4 separate regions of the Homo sapiens genome follow, and all the other regions are linked to region 4. Evidence: promoter capture Hi-C in 16 types of primary human blood cells and fetal thymus (Javierre and others, 2016). All regions are on one chromosome and are shown on one strand. The core of a region is centred on a gene start or on the middle of the fragment in contact, and the rest is flanking DNA. Distances in the headings are between cores, read along the strand shown. Region 1 holds the start of ATP6V0A1 (ATPase H+ transporting V0 subunit a1). Region 2 holds the start of TUBG1 (tubulin gamma 1). Region 3 holds the start of PSMC3IP (PSMC3 interacting protein). Region 4 holds the start of ACLY (ATP citrate lyase).

What was found. The method cuts DNA at HindIII sites, captures the fragments that hold promoters and counts their contacts. A CHiCAGO score of 5 or more calls a contact.
Region 1: the fragment with the promoter of ATP6V0A1 here is called in contact with the fragment with the promoter of ACLY in region 4 in 2 of 17 cell types (erythroblasts and M0 macrophages); the score reaches 13.6 in erythroblasts.
Region 2: a contact is called between the fragment with the promoter of TUBG1 here and the fragment with the promoter of ACLY in region 4, in 1 of 17 cell types (fetal thymus). The highest score is 5.0, in fetal thymus.
Region 3: the fragment with the promoter of PSMC3IP here is called in contact with the fragment with the promoter of ACLY in region 4 in 2 of 17 cell types (fetal thymus and erythroblasts); the score reaches 6.6 in fetal thymus.

Annotation. Positions count from the first base shown.
Region 1 is chr17:42,457,171-42,460,371 of GRCh38, reverse strand. It overlaps ATP6V0A1 (ATPase H+ transporting V0 subunit a1), which reads right to left and starts at 1,494. Exons shown (of 22, transcript NM_001130021.3): 1 at 1,409-1,494. RefSeq lists a silencer at 1,425-1,634 and an enhancer at 1,785-1,874. The HindIII fragment of the contact is 8,228 bases long and covers 1-3,201 here.
Region 2 is chr17:42,607,455-42,610,957 of GRCh38, reverse strand. It overlaps TUBG1 (tubulin gamma 1), which reads right to left and starts at 1,275. Exons shown (of 11, transcript NM_001070.5): 1 at 1,172-1,275; 2 at 738-850; 3 at 368-535. The coding sequence starts at 1,220. RETREG3 (reticulophagy regulator family member 3) reads left to right here and starts at 1,584. Exons shown (of 9, transcript NM_178126.4): 1 at 1,584-1,872. The coding sequence starts at 1,634. RefSeq lists an enhancer at 1,593-1,702. The HindIII fragment of the contact is 4,939 bases long and covers 1-2,328 here.
Region 3 is chr17:42,575,895-42,579,234 of GRCh38, reverse strand. PSMC3IP (PSMC3 interacting protein) reads left to right here and starts at 1,506. Exons shown (of 8, transcript NM_016556.4): 1 at 1,506-1,582; 2 at 1,674-1,774; 3 at 1,933-2,022. The coding sequence starts at 1,549. RefSeq lists an enhancer at 1,155-1,244 and a silencer at 1,545-1,594. The HindIII fragment of the contact is 6,888 bases long and covers 560-3,340 here.
Region 4 is chr17:41,917,319-41,920,383 of GRCh38, reverse strand. ACLY (ATP citrate lyase) reads left to right here and starts at 1,433. Exons shown (of 29, transcript NM_001096.3): 1 at 1,433-1,504. RefSeq lists silencers at 1,051-1,310, 1,791-2,030. The HindIII fragment of the contact is 30,796 bases long and covers 1-3,065 here.

The DNA.
Region 1 (3,201 bases), core at 245-2,744, 540 kb before region 4:
AAAGCCCAAAGTTCTGGCACTATCCTAAAGCTATGGCTACACTAAAGGGTTTAATCTTCCAGATTCCTCAGAAAACAATATTTCCCCACTTAGGAATTCAAACAAATAACCGTCATCTGGAAAAAGCAACCAGTTTGCATATTAAGCTCAATTTCAAATCAAGCATGACAGGAACACACTGATAATGACAAAGCAGTTTTATCAAGCCACAGAGAATAAGCCTTCCACCTCTGCAGCTTTCTGTTTCTCAACCCTACCTTCAAGATTAATTACATTCTTCCATCTGTCAAATCTCATGAGCCAATAAAGGTTTCGTTTTAGTGCTGTCTTACTGTTGCCGGGTATGAGACAACTGGCGCTATCAGTGGTCCTGAAACTGCAATTATTTATTCTCGATCAGCTAATGTAAGGCACAGCCTGTCCAGTATCCAAACTCAGAAAAATGCACAGTATTTTTAGTGTCATAAGGGCATCTATACTGAGTACTGATAGATGAGTCTGACATCAAAGGAAGATTTACTCTTCTGGAAGGCTGGGAGACATTTTGAGAAATCTGAACGAACAAACCTTTGTGCATGTGATGTTCAAGACAGTAACACAAGCTCAGACATAAGCAAGGACTTCTCAAGAGAATATGCAGGCTGACTTTAAGATTCTGTACATCTGAATCATCCAAATCAGCTGTTACCGGCACCACCCTTAAACAAAGAGAGATTCTACAACCTCTAAACACATAAAATTAGGCCTGGTCAGCATAGTTCAGGAGCTGTGGATAATGATAAGCCTCCAACGAGTCGCCTCCGTCCTCCTGCTCTTTAATGATTATAGGTCTCCCAAGAATATCTCTATAGCAATGGAGGCTAACAGAAAACTAATTAGGCCAAAGTAGTTCTGGACGATCACAAAACAAAATATGAAGAAACAGCAATTCTGCAAAAGATGAGTCCAACTACAGCGCCCCCGCGCCCTGCCTAGAAGAATCTCACTCCTGTCATCCGGTCCTCGCCTCCTCCCACGGTATTCACCTGCTTCATTTCCTGTCTACCCAATGAGCAGGAATTCTCTGGACTCAGGCTCATCTACCTTGAGATGGGAAAAAAGGAGAGGAAAACCCCCAAACTGAGAAACCCTTTAAGAAGCCCCCTAAATTCTTCTGCCTATCCAATAACCTCCGGTTCCTCCGCCTACCCCTTAAAGCAGGGAAGAGATGCGGGGCTTCCAAAGGGCAGTGAGCCTCCGGTTCCTCAGGGCAGAGGAGGGGTGCCCAAGGAGGGGGCGAACCCCCATTTTATCTCGAAGACGTCAGATCCCCGCTAATTCCTCTGACAATCAAGGGGGCTCTTAGAAGGATTTCCTACGTCCATCGAGGGCCGCTCCCTGTTGCGCTAAACCTACAGCCCCCACTCACCTCCAAACTCCGCCACAGCAACCGCCACAGAAACCACCGCAGCCAAACCCGCACCCTCCGCGGCTCCAGGAGCAGCGCTTCGACGTGCTTGCGTCCGTAAAGCCCCGCCCCTGCGCCGCCGCCGGCCCCCGCCCCCGCAATGACCTCATTGCAGTTGGCCAATGGGGCGCAGCCTCGCCCGGGCTGCAGCAGTGCGGAGTCACGGGGGTCGCAGGCGAGACCCAGCGTGCTGACGCCATGTTGGCCCCTGTGCTGTATCTCCACGCTGGGGAGGGTTAGCGGGTGGGGCTGGAGGTGCAGGTGCTCGAGGCCTTAAGTTCCTGAGCCTCCCTGAATCCTTTTTCTTACCCCTTATACTGGGGTAGGTTGTCTTTTCTCTTTCTTTTTTTTTTTTTGAAGTCTCATTCTGTTGCTCAAGCAGGAGTGCAGTGGCGTGATCTCGGCCCACTGCAACCTCCACCTCCCGGGTTCAAGCGATTCTCCTGCCTCAGCCTCCCAAGTAGCTGGGACTACAGGCACGCACCACCATGCCCGGCTAATTTTTGTATTTTTTTTTTTTTTAAGTAGAGACGGGGTTTCACTATGTTGGCCAGGCTGAGTCTCGAATTCTGACCTCGTGATCCACCCGCCTCGGCCTCCCAAAGTGTTGGGATTACAAGCGTGAGCCACCACGCCCGGCCTTTTTTTTTTTTTTTTTTTTTTTTTTTTAGATGGTCTGTTTCCCAGGCGGGAATGCAGTGGCGCGTTCTCGGCTCACTGCAGCCTCCGCCTCCCGGGTTCAGGGGATTCTCCTGCCTCAGCCTCCCTAGTAGCTGAGATTACAGGCACGCACCACGCCACCCGGCTATTTTTGTATTTTTTGTAGAGATGGGGTTTCGCCATGTTGCCCAGACTGGTCCTGGCCTCCACCCGCCTCGGCCTCCCAAAGTGCTGGGATTACAGGTGTGAGCCACCGCGCCCGGCCCTCTCTTTATTTTCATATCCAAAGAATTAATTCACACATACGCACCCAAATAATTAATGTCTTCTCTCTTTATTTTCATATCCAAAGAATTCACACACACACTCAAATAATTAATACGCAGACACATATACCACCCTTTCTCTTTTCCCTTATTTTACAGATGAGAACATTTGAGCCCCAGACTGGGGAGCGGCTAGCTTTAGATCCTGTAGTAGAGTCTTTAACGGGGTCTCATTTGCATAAGTATGGAAAACCTCTCTTTAAATGGTACATGGTTCATGCCTTCCAGCAACTTCCCCGGGTCTATTTTTCTCTGTTTAACAGGAAAAACCTCATCAGACCATATGTTGTGAAAGTACATTTCAGTCTTGTTTGGTAGATTCATGTGGGCTCAATTGACCACTTAGGAGTTTTCAATTCCTCAAATTTATTTTAAAAACATTTTTTATGGCTTGTACTCAACTTGTAAATTAAATATTGAAAAACATTTTTTAAACGCAAAAGTGATGTCTATTATTTTTTAAATGCCATTATCAAATATTGATATTGATTCCCTTTTCTTGCCCTTTTAAAGAAGAGTAGGGATCTCAAGTCGTTTGTGATAACCAGAATTGTATCAGGAAAAACTCAGAAAACCGGTTATTCTGTCTTCCTGGGTGGTGGAACCCTGTTGAAATTCAAGTGTAATGAGGGAGATATTCCAGATAAAAACTTGTTGCTGATAATTTTGTCAACCTGACAAAAACATCATCAAACCTGCTTTACCAGCCTAAACAAAATAAGGGGACAAAAATGGACGTTTTATTTGAATTTATTGTCTCATATTGTG
Region 2 (3,503 bases), core at 26-2,525, 690 kb before region 4:
GAAACTATAAAACAGCCTGTCTTCATTGAAATTTGTTTTTGCTGATAAACTAGTTATGAAATGTCCTTTGGTTTCATGGCTTTCTGGATCCTGGAAAGGCAGATAAGGGACTGTGGACCTGTAGTACTTACTTCTAGGGTTGTTGGGAGATTTAGAAAAATTAATATATGTAAAGCACTTAGAATGACCTGGCACACTGCATTAGCTAGTGTAGGCGCTTGACAATATTACATAGTCCACTCCCTGCAGCCAGGTCTCTCCCTCCAGCATTCATACATCCCTGATCCGGTTTTCCCTCTCTTCGGGACGTCATAGAGCCTGTCCCTACCCAGCGAGTTGTGGGCCCTGCCAGGGAATAGGAAACGACCTGGGAGAATCCGCTGGCCCAGTTGTTGCCAGCTCCTCCTCCATGTTCCGACAGGTAGATGTTCTCTGGGTTGTAGAGCTTGGCATAGGGGGAGTTGAGGATGGAGTGGATCACCCGGGGTTCCAAGTCCAGCAGCACGGCCCGGGGGATGTAGTGCTCATCGTCTGCCTGTCAAGGGGAGTCCAGGAGGGGGCCCAATCAGCTAGGGCGGCCCAAGTCCGAAGTCCTCCCAACTCTGGCTCCCTCCGGCCCTCCCTCCTCAAGCCAGCCGCCTGGCCCTACTGCCCAGCGGGGTTCCCAGTACCAGGCCACTCCCTTCCCTTCCGCCCCCTTGGGCAACTGCCGCCCCCGGCCAAGTCGCTGGGGGCACCTGGTAGAAAAAGACGTCCTTGCGGTCAGTGCCCTCGGTGGCGAACTCCTCCACGATGCCCTCGGGGCTGATACCATGCTCGGCGCACAGCTGTTTCCAGAACTCGAACCCAACTGGGGGGAAGGGGCGGGCAGGGGAGAAAGAAGATATCTAGGTCCGGGCAGGTTCCAATCAGGAGCCGGGGGACTGGGCGCCTGCGTCCAGGGATAAGAAGTCAAGCCGCAGGACTCTCCCGTGTCTGAGGAAAGGACTGTACGCCAGGGACTGGGCAGGGGAGGGCCCCTCGGGGTTGGGCAAGTGGACACTGGGTCAGGGATGTCTCGCCTTTCAGAGAACTACGATTCTGGCAAGGACAGATGGAGTCCAGGATCCCACAGCGAGATCCCATTGACCCTAAGGAACCTGGCTAGCTGAGGGGCCGGAGTTTCGCTCACTCTGATTGCCGCACTGGCCCAACTGTAGGGTGATGATTTCCCTCGGCATCGCTCCTCAGGCACCGGCGTTGCAGCCGCTCCCGCCCGCAACGGCGCCGCACGCCAGCCCGCTCGCCGCAAGACGCAGGCGCCAAACAACCAGCTCCACCCACGAACTTCCTCCGCTCCAATGAGAATCGAGTTCTGGCAATGAATGGCACGTCTTTAAGCACTGGCCTTCGTTCATGCAGATTGCGCGTGCGCGGCTCCGGATGCGGCTCGGCGCCTCCGGATCCGGCTCCGCGCCTCAGTGAGGGCGGGGTACGGCGTCCTCCCTCCCCTCTGGGTGGGCGCCTGCTTGGGCCTGCGCGCAAGCGCGCTGTGGTGCGAAGCCACCTCCCCCGCCGAATCGCGCATCTGCGCAGTTGCTGTTATTGTGACTTGTCGGGCCACGGCCCCGGATGTTGTGGCTGCCGCGGGGAGATGGCTGAGGCCGAAGGGGTTCCCACGACCCCAGGCCCGGCTTCGGGGTCGACTTTCAGGGGCCGCCGAGATGTGTCAGGCTCCTGGGAGCGGGACCAGCAGGTTGAGGCGGCGCAGCGGGCCCTGGTGGAGGTGCTGGGGCCTTACGAGCCTCTGCTGAGTCGGGTGCAGGCAGCCCTGGTGTGGGAGCGGCCAGCTAGGAGCGCTCTGTGGTGCCTGGGGCTGAACGCGGCTTTCTGGTGAGAGAACTGGACCCTCGGAAACCCTCCGAGTCCCGAATTCGTTGGTTCCTCTAGGGCTCTACTTCTCGCCTGCCCTGTTTTCTTCGCTGCACTGGCTCCTTCCTGTACTTGCCTAATTTTGCCTCACCTCCTTCCACTCCATCCCGCCTGCAGGCTTCGGCACCCTAGTTCTTCCCAGGGCCGTCCACCCATCTTCTCTGCCTTACCTGTGCCCGCACCCCCGCCCCGCACATCTGGCGGGAGCTTCTGGTAACATCTTGAGCCGCTCAAGAGTGAGCGAGGGCTCCTCTTTTGAGCCCGACAAAGCTGCGTCCCTTTAAAGCCATCACTTCCTTTCTCTTGTCTGCTCAAGTGCAAGTTCTAGATTGTTTCCAGAGGTTTTAGTAGTTTATTGTTGGAGTAGAGGCGTGAAGTCTTGCAAAGGTATCCATAGGTGTGATTATAAAACAAGCTTGAGCGATTCGCATGAATTAGCATGTTATATATCTAGGAAGGAAGTTTATGAAGTCTAAGCGTCAGTGTGAGCCCCCAAAGCTGAAAATTGAAAGAAAATTACAAGCTTTTAAAGAACAGTTAGGAAATGATGACGGAGATTACACGCGTGTCAAAGCCACCTGTGATTGTAACTCCTCCCTGTTCCAAGGAATTAGAGAGGCATCCTTAGCCATGGTTTATAGGCAAGGAAATTGATGTCTAATACTGTGTGTGAGTTTTCCTGAGCTGGAAAAGTAGCACTGTAAATATGCTTTATTTGTGTGTGTCATGCTCTGTGAAAATGGAACTGCTGCTTCTCTCAGTTGTCATCACCTGAAGTGGACCTAGGACTTCATAGGATCTACCAACCATAATTTTGGATTTATTTGTAATGGAGGAGGTTCCAAGGGAACTGACTTATAGGGGGCTTTCTGCTGCTGAATGGATTAAGACTATTCTGGATAAGCCTGAAACAACAAAATATGTGTGTTTTTTAATTGTGTTTTTGCTAAAAATAGCTTTCCCCTTAAAATTTGTTTTAAAATCAAAACATTTATTATCCTTTATCTGAAAGATTTTCAGTGAGCTGAAGCAGAACAAATAATTCCAAGTTCATTGACCCGAAAACAGTGTTCAGCTATTAAGCTAATCCTCTCCCAGTTTGAAAGAGACCCAGTTAAAGGTGTCACAGTAGTCTCTGGCATTTGTGGCTTCCAGAGCCTTTAGCAAACTCGATGGTAAACTTTTCCTACCACGTTCTTCATTTATTTTTGGTAGTGCTTTTTCCCTTTTTTTTTTTTTTAAGACAGAGTTTCACTCTTATTGCCCAGGCTGGAGTGCAATGGCGTGATCTCGGCTCACTGCAACCTCCGCCTCCCAGATTCAAGCATTTCTCCTGCCTCAGCCCCCCAAGTAGCTGGGATTACAGGCATGAACCACCACAACCGGCTAATTTTGTATTTTTTTAGTAGAGATGGGGTTTCTCCATGTTGGTCAGGCTGGTCTCGAACTCCCGAGGTCAGGTGATCTGCCTGCCTCGGCCTCCCAAAGTGCTGGGATTACAGGCGTGAGCCACTGCGCCTGGCCTTTTTTTTTTTTTTTTTTTTTTTGAGACAAGGTCTTGCTCTATCACCCAGGCTGGAGTGCAGTGGTAT
Region 3 (3,340 bases), core at 257-2,756, 660 kb before region 4:
GGAGTCTTGGTCTGTCGCCCAGGCTGGAGTGCAGTGGTGCGATCTCTCACTGCAAGCTCCGCCTCCCGGGTTCACGCCATTCTCCTGCCTCAGCCTCCTGAGTAGCTTGGACTACAGGCGCCCACCAGCACGCCTGGCTAATTTTTTGTATTTTTAGTAGAGATGGGGTTTCACAGTGTTAGCCAGGATGGTCTCGATCTCCTGACCTCGTGATCCGCCCGCCCTGGCCTCCCAAAGTGCTGGGATTGCAGGCGTGAGCCACCGCGCTCGGCCCTTTCATTTCTAATTCTTAATATTGTCTCCTAAACGTGCAGAGACAAGCACACGTTTTAAAGGCTAAGGAGGTTGTAGGTAGCAGAAGGCTTTAAAAAGTAGCACCTTACTCCTTCACTGGATGGTCTGAGCTGCAGGGACAGCTGCTCTTTGGCCTTCAGCTCACCTCAGAAACTAGAAATATTTATTTCAGGCTCTGTCCCATTGGCCACTGTGGTCAGGGGTGGAAAGCACCTGCCAGGTGTTGCCCTGAGATTGTCTGGGCTAACAAACTTTTCCACAAGCTTTGTGGTTGAACAGTAGCCCCCTCCTAACCCTATCGTTCCTTGGCGTCCAAACTACAGTAGGTGTCGAGTGCCCCCTGGGTGCGAAGCTCGGTATTAGGCAAATAAGGGTGGTTGCTCTCCAAGGCGCTTAGCTGTCCCCCCTTCCCACTTTTTTTTTTTTTGTTCGAGACTGCGTCTCGCTCTGTCGCCAGGATGGGGTGCAGTGGCGCGCTCATAGTGGCTCACTGCAGCCTCGATGTCCGGGGCTCTGGTGACCCTCCCACCTCAGCCTCCAGAGTAGCTGGGACCACAGAAGCGCGCCACCACTCTTAATTTTTTGTACTTTATTTGCAGAGATGGGGTTTCATATTGCCCAGACTGGTTTCGAATTCCTGGGCTCAAACGATCCGCCCGCCTCAGCCTCCCAAAGTGATAGAATTGCAGGGGTGACATGCCACTGCGCCCGACCAAGGCGCTTAGCTTTCTATTAAGTTTTCACAACCACTTTCCTACCACTATCTACTGTTCCTATTTTACAAATGACAAAACTAACCGACAAAAGAGCACTGGACCGTGGGACCAGAGCACGTCCCTGTGGGGTAACCTTGAGCTGGTCGCTTGCCCAGGGCGGCAGCGGATGTCTGAAGCGTCTTCCAATCCCAACATTAGACTTAATTCAAGGTCACCAGTGCTCAGCTGCGGCTGGAACTGGGTCTCGAAACTTGAAGGCCTTCTCTGCTACAGCCTTCGTTCCCGGGAGCAGAAAGAGGAAGTTTCTTAGCCGTGGGCACGCCGGCGCCTTCGCAGAGGCCCATGGCTTGAGGTCCGGCCCGAATGCGCAAGTTCCGACCTGAAATGAACTATGGAGTCCGGGAGGGGTCGCTTTGCTCCTCCGGAAGGCTTCCCCTTCAGCCAATCACCGTTCGAGGCCCGCCCCCGTCGCCGGAAGGAGCCGTCGCCCCGAGCAACTACAACGTCCGGCTTTCTGAGTTGGGTGGCGGGAAAGGCGATGAGTAAAGGCCGGGCAGAAGCTGCGGCGGGAGGTAACGGCGCCGTGGGCGCGGGGAAGACCCGGGAGGGCAGTGGGTGAGGAGGTCGGTTGAGTGGCCCCCTCCCCTGCCTTTCTCTCCGTAGCCGCCGGGATCCTCCTGAGGTACCTGCAGGAGCAGAACCGGCCCTACAGCTCCCAGGATGTGTTCGGGAACCTACAGCGGGAACACGGACTGGGCAAGGCGGTGAGGACCTTCTCCCGGGATTCCCTCTCCGTCGGACTCCCTGGATTCAGGCTGGGGTCGTGCCCTTTGGAGCCTTGGGCGTTTTCCACATCACTGGCTGGATTTCCCCAGACCCAGGCTCAGACTCCTCTGATTGCTCCTTCTCTCTCCTCTGCCAGGTGGTGGTGAAGACGCTGGAGCAGCTGGCGCAACAAGGCAAGATCAAAGAGAAGATGTACGGCAAGCAGAAGATCTATTTTGCGGATCAGGTGAGGAGAACTTGCGCCGATTGTCACCCATGAGAGCCCGACAACGGGTGAATCTACTCCTGGTGTGAACTCTTTGGGGACAAGGCCCCCCATGGAAAACTCACCTGTCTTAGGCCACCATCCTTAAATCAAGGTGTGTACTCCTCTTGTTAGGATCCCAACTTCACGAGGTTTCCAGATTTACAATATGATGGATGACAGAAGATTCTGTATTGTTGCTACCAAGATCCATTTCCGCTCCAAAGCTCTTATTCCTTATCATCTACATTAGCAACACCCTCTGCCAAATGATGTTCCTCCTGCCTCCATCCGATTCTCTAAACACACATATCAAATTTATATTCTCCAGCCCAGACCTCCAGCTGGAATCTGTCAGGCATTAATATCAGAGTCAAAATTGCCACAGTAGAATGCCTCATCTTCCCCCCACCCCGGACTGGTTTCTTTCTAACATTCTCCTCCCCTAATGGAATTACTCTTCACCCAAACCAGAAATTGGGAGCAATTCTTGACTTCCTTTACTAGTCAACCATCAAGTCCAGCTGATTTTTCCGTTTTTATTTATTTTTTTAATTTTTATAGAGATGGGTCTTACTGTGCTGCCCAGGTTGGTCCCAACTCCTGGGCTCAAGTGATCCTCCTGTCTTGGCCTCCCAAAGTGCTGGGAGGACAGGCGTGAACCACAGAGCCTGGCTAATTTTTCCATTCTTGAATCCACTCTCCTTTCCATCTGCCATGGTTGCTCTAGTTCACGCCCTCTTTATTTGTTGCAGTATCCTCCTAACAGATCTTGGCTCTTCAAACATATCTTAAACTCTTAAACATTGCAGTCAGAATGATCTGTCTAAATAGATCTGGTCATGCACCTTCCCTATTTAAAACTCTTCAATGGCTCTCTAGTGCTGCAAAAAACATGTAAAAGGCACCGGAAGACGCCCCAGCCAGCCTCTGGCCTCACCAATCCTCATTATTTTTCTATCCACGAACACTAGATAATTCTGGTGTGTTTTACTGCTCTGTCCTTTGCATGTTGTCTTCCCTGTACCTGCTTCTCTTCCTGGCCAGCTCTTTCTTTCCTTGAGGATTTCACTTAGACATCACCTTTTCCAGAAATCTTCCTTGAATGCTCCGAGCTAATTGTTTCTTTTTCAGGCCCTTATCTCTTTTTGTTATTGTTGTTGTTGTTGTTGTTGAGACGGAGTCTCGCTCTGTCACCCAGGCTGGAGTGCAGTGGCACAATCTCGGCTCACTATAAGCTCCACCTCCTGGGTTCACGCCATTCCCCCGCCTCAGCCTCCCAGAGTAGCTGGGACTACAG
Region 4 (3,065 bases), core at 184-2,683:
CAAGTGATCCCCCACCTTGGCCTTCCAAAGTGCTGGGATTACAGGTGTGAGCCACCAAGACTGGCCACCCCCATTTTAGGACAAGAGAAGAGAGGTGATAAGGAACTGCTATTTCAAAAAGATGAATGGGAGGGAAGGGACCAGAAAGTGACATCATCAGGGAACACTTGATTCAGGCATGGGTAGCAAGTTCAGTTACCTTACTCCTGGCAGCAACAGGATTGGGGGAGGGGGTCTTGGAGAAGATTTTGTCTGCAAATGTCGCAACACTGTTGCAGTGTGAGTATGACCCAAAGTGCTTGGCAGGGGGACAGGCCTGCTGCTTCCCTGCATTCTGGGCTGACCTCTTCACCTGAGTCGGTCAGTGGACGCTTTTGGCCTCCTTCCTGGAGCTAGACAGCTGTTAGGCTTAGGGAGCAGCTCCGGACCTACAGGGTTGGGGTGCAGGTAGGGAGGGAGGCTGCAGCATGTCAGAGTGGTAAATACATGTCCTGATTTCCAGGACTGATTTCACATATTCTGCCCCACAAGTTCACCAGCACCTGTCAGATTGGATGTCCCAGTTTTTGGTTTGGAAAATTCGATCTGTCTCAGGTAATGGAGAAGGGGGAGACAGCAGTTCATTCATTCCAGTGTCTAAGCCTGTGGTTGGTGGGAACAAGAGACTGTCTGGGATGGCTCCAGCCCTTCGCTGGAATCTCGCATTGAATTCCTAGCTCCGCCCTGATCCGTGCTGAGGCGAGCAGGTGAGTGGGACGGACAGCGCTGTGCCTGCACCCTCCTAGCCCCACTTGCTTACCGCGGCCCCTGCCTTATCCCACACTGGGAAGTATGCTCTGTTAGCCTCGGCTCAGCCTTGCCTCATCGGCCCAGTGGGGAGAGTCCAGGGAGGAGAGAGGCTCCACGTGCTAAAGGAAAGCGGCCTGCCAGACACTGCTGCTTAAGGAGACTGTCTAAGCAATCGGATTCGGTGCGGCCGAGATGCAGACGTCCGTTTCTCCCAAGGGAAGGAGCAAGGGTACTCCAGGTCCCAAAGCTGCGTTACAGCCAGTTGGGCTAATCCTACCCGCCCCTCCCCCAACTCCCCGAGTGGCAATCTGTCCAGCCCCTCAAGCGATCAGGCCACAACCCCCAGCACCGCGCGTTCTCCTCCCAGCCTAGCCCGGCCCATCTCCCCACCCGGGGCCCCGCCCCGGCCCCGCAGGCTCCCAAGAGGCGGTGGATGGGCCAGCGGGACTACAAGTCCCAGCAGGCCCCGGGGCCCGCCCTCGTGGGGCGGAGCCAAGCCAGCAGCGAATTGGGAGGAGCCCTGGCGCTCAGGCTAGGGAACGCGTGTGGCCAATCGCGGGGCCGTTCTCGCCGCGAGCCGATGGGGGCGGGGAAAAGTCCGGCTGGGCCGGGACAAAAGCCGGATCCCGGGAAGCTACCGGCTGCTGGGGTGCTCCGGATTTTGCGGGGTTCGTCGGGCCTGTGGAAGAAGCGCCGCGCACGGACTTCGGCAGAGGTGAGCACGGGAGGCTGTTTTCGCTGGCTGGAGCCCGCTCGCCCTAGGAGCTTCCTGCCTCCGTCCCCCAACCCGGAACCGCCTTCCCCGACGCGGGCTCGGTGCCCACGCGCCCTGCTCGGAAGTTTTGAGGGTCTTAGCTTTAGGTTAGCCTTCGCCCGGGGTCCCGGCCGGTGGCCGCGTGTCGACGCCCCTCCCCTCCCCCCGCGCGACACACACATATTCCAGTTCCTGGGAGTTTGCATGGGGCTTGCCGCCATCCTTGCCTCTTCTGCCTCTGCCACATTGCATGGTCCCCCTCCTGGCGCGCCTCACCCCTCCCGGGCACAGCTATCGAGGCTCCTCGGGCTCATCGGGACGCCTTTTGGCTCCATCCGGGTTCCCCCATCGGATGCCGGGACGGGAAGTAGAGAAAGCGGTGGCGACTGGTCCCACTCCGATTCCTCACTGGCCGGGCTCAGGCCCTTCTTGGTTCCGTGGGTACAAAATTGAGCTCCACGCCCAAGTGGAGAGAATGAGCTATGCGCGCCTCCGGGGCGGGCCACGCGGGGCCAGGCTGCCCCAGGGTGCCCGAGGCCTCGCCTCGTCTCGCCGCGAGGACTGGAATCTCGCAGCAAGGACCCTCCTCGCACTGGAGGTATCGTCGAGTCCAGCCCCTAAGTGACAGATGGCCGGGGTGCCACCCCACCCTTGAGCTGACGCCAAGTCTGGCCGGGGAAAGGTCCTCAAGGGGCTGGAGGATGCTGCCGCCGCCCTCCTGTCGAGCCTGGCAATGGGCCAGTCCCAGCGCCTGCCGCGGTCTCCAACCTTGGCAGATACCGTGCAGTGCCGAGTTCTGCCGTTATGGGGTCCCTGGAGGTCTTCCTGGGAAGAGGATTTTGGAAGAGACGATAAGGAAAAGTGCACAGCACAGTTTGGCCAGCTAGCCTACTCCTCTCCACCCTTAACTTTCCTCTGTGTTTTCAGCTGGCTCAGCTGAACTAAAATGTGGGGTGAGGGACAGCTGGTAGGTCTCATTTGCCCAGATGGGTGATTTTCACCTCTTAGAAACCTTCCTAAACAGCTTGGGGGGCGGTAGTGGGAAGACCCCTCAGACACTGGACAGCTTATGGCTCCATCCCCGTTCTGACACTATGCCTGCCGCAGTAAGGGGCACTCACAGAATTCTGCCTCTCTAGAATTTACTCCAGGGATTGCCTGTCTTCTCAAAAAATAAATAAATAAATACCTACATACGTAAGTCCCAATCCTGCAGATACTAACCTTCAAATGAGTGTTTTTGTCTTTCCCAGAGGCACCCTTAGTAGCATCCCCAGTGATTCCCTTCCCCTGGCTGTGTCCCAGGGGCGTGTTCTGGGGAACAGGCTTCTTTCATTCAGCCTCCTGTGTGGGCTGCTTCTCTCAGTGTCTGCTAAAAGTGAACTCAATCCTGGGTCACTCACCCGTCTGCAGAAAGACTCCATTCAGCTCATAAGGCCCCTCCCTTAGAGAATGTGTGTATGTGTGTGTTTTCAGGTTCCTTGGCATGATTTCCCCCAAATGGTTTACACATTTAGCTGTT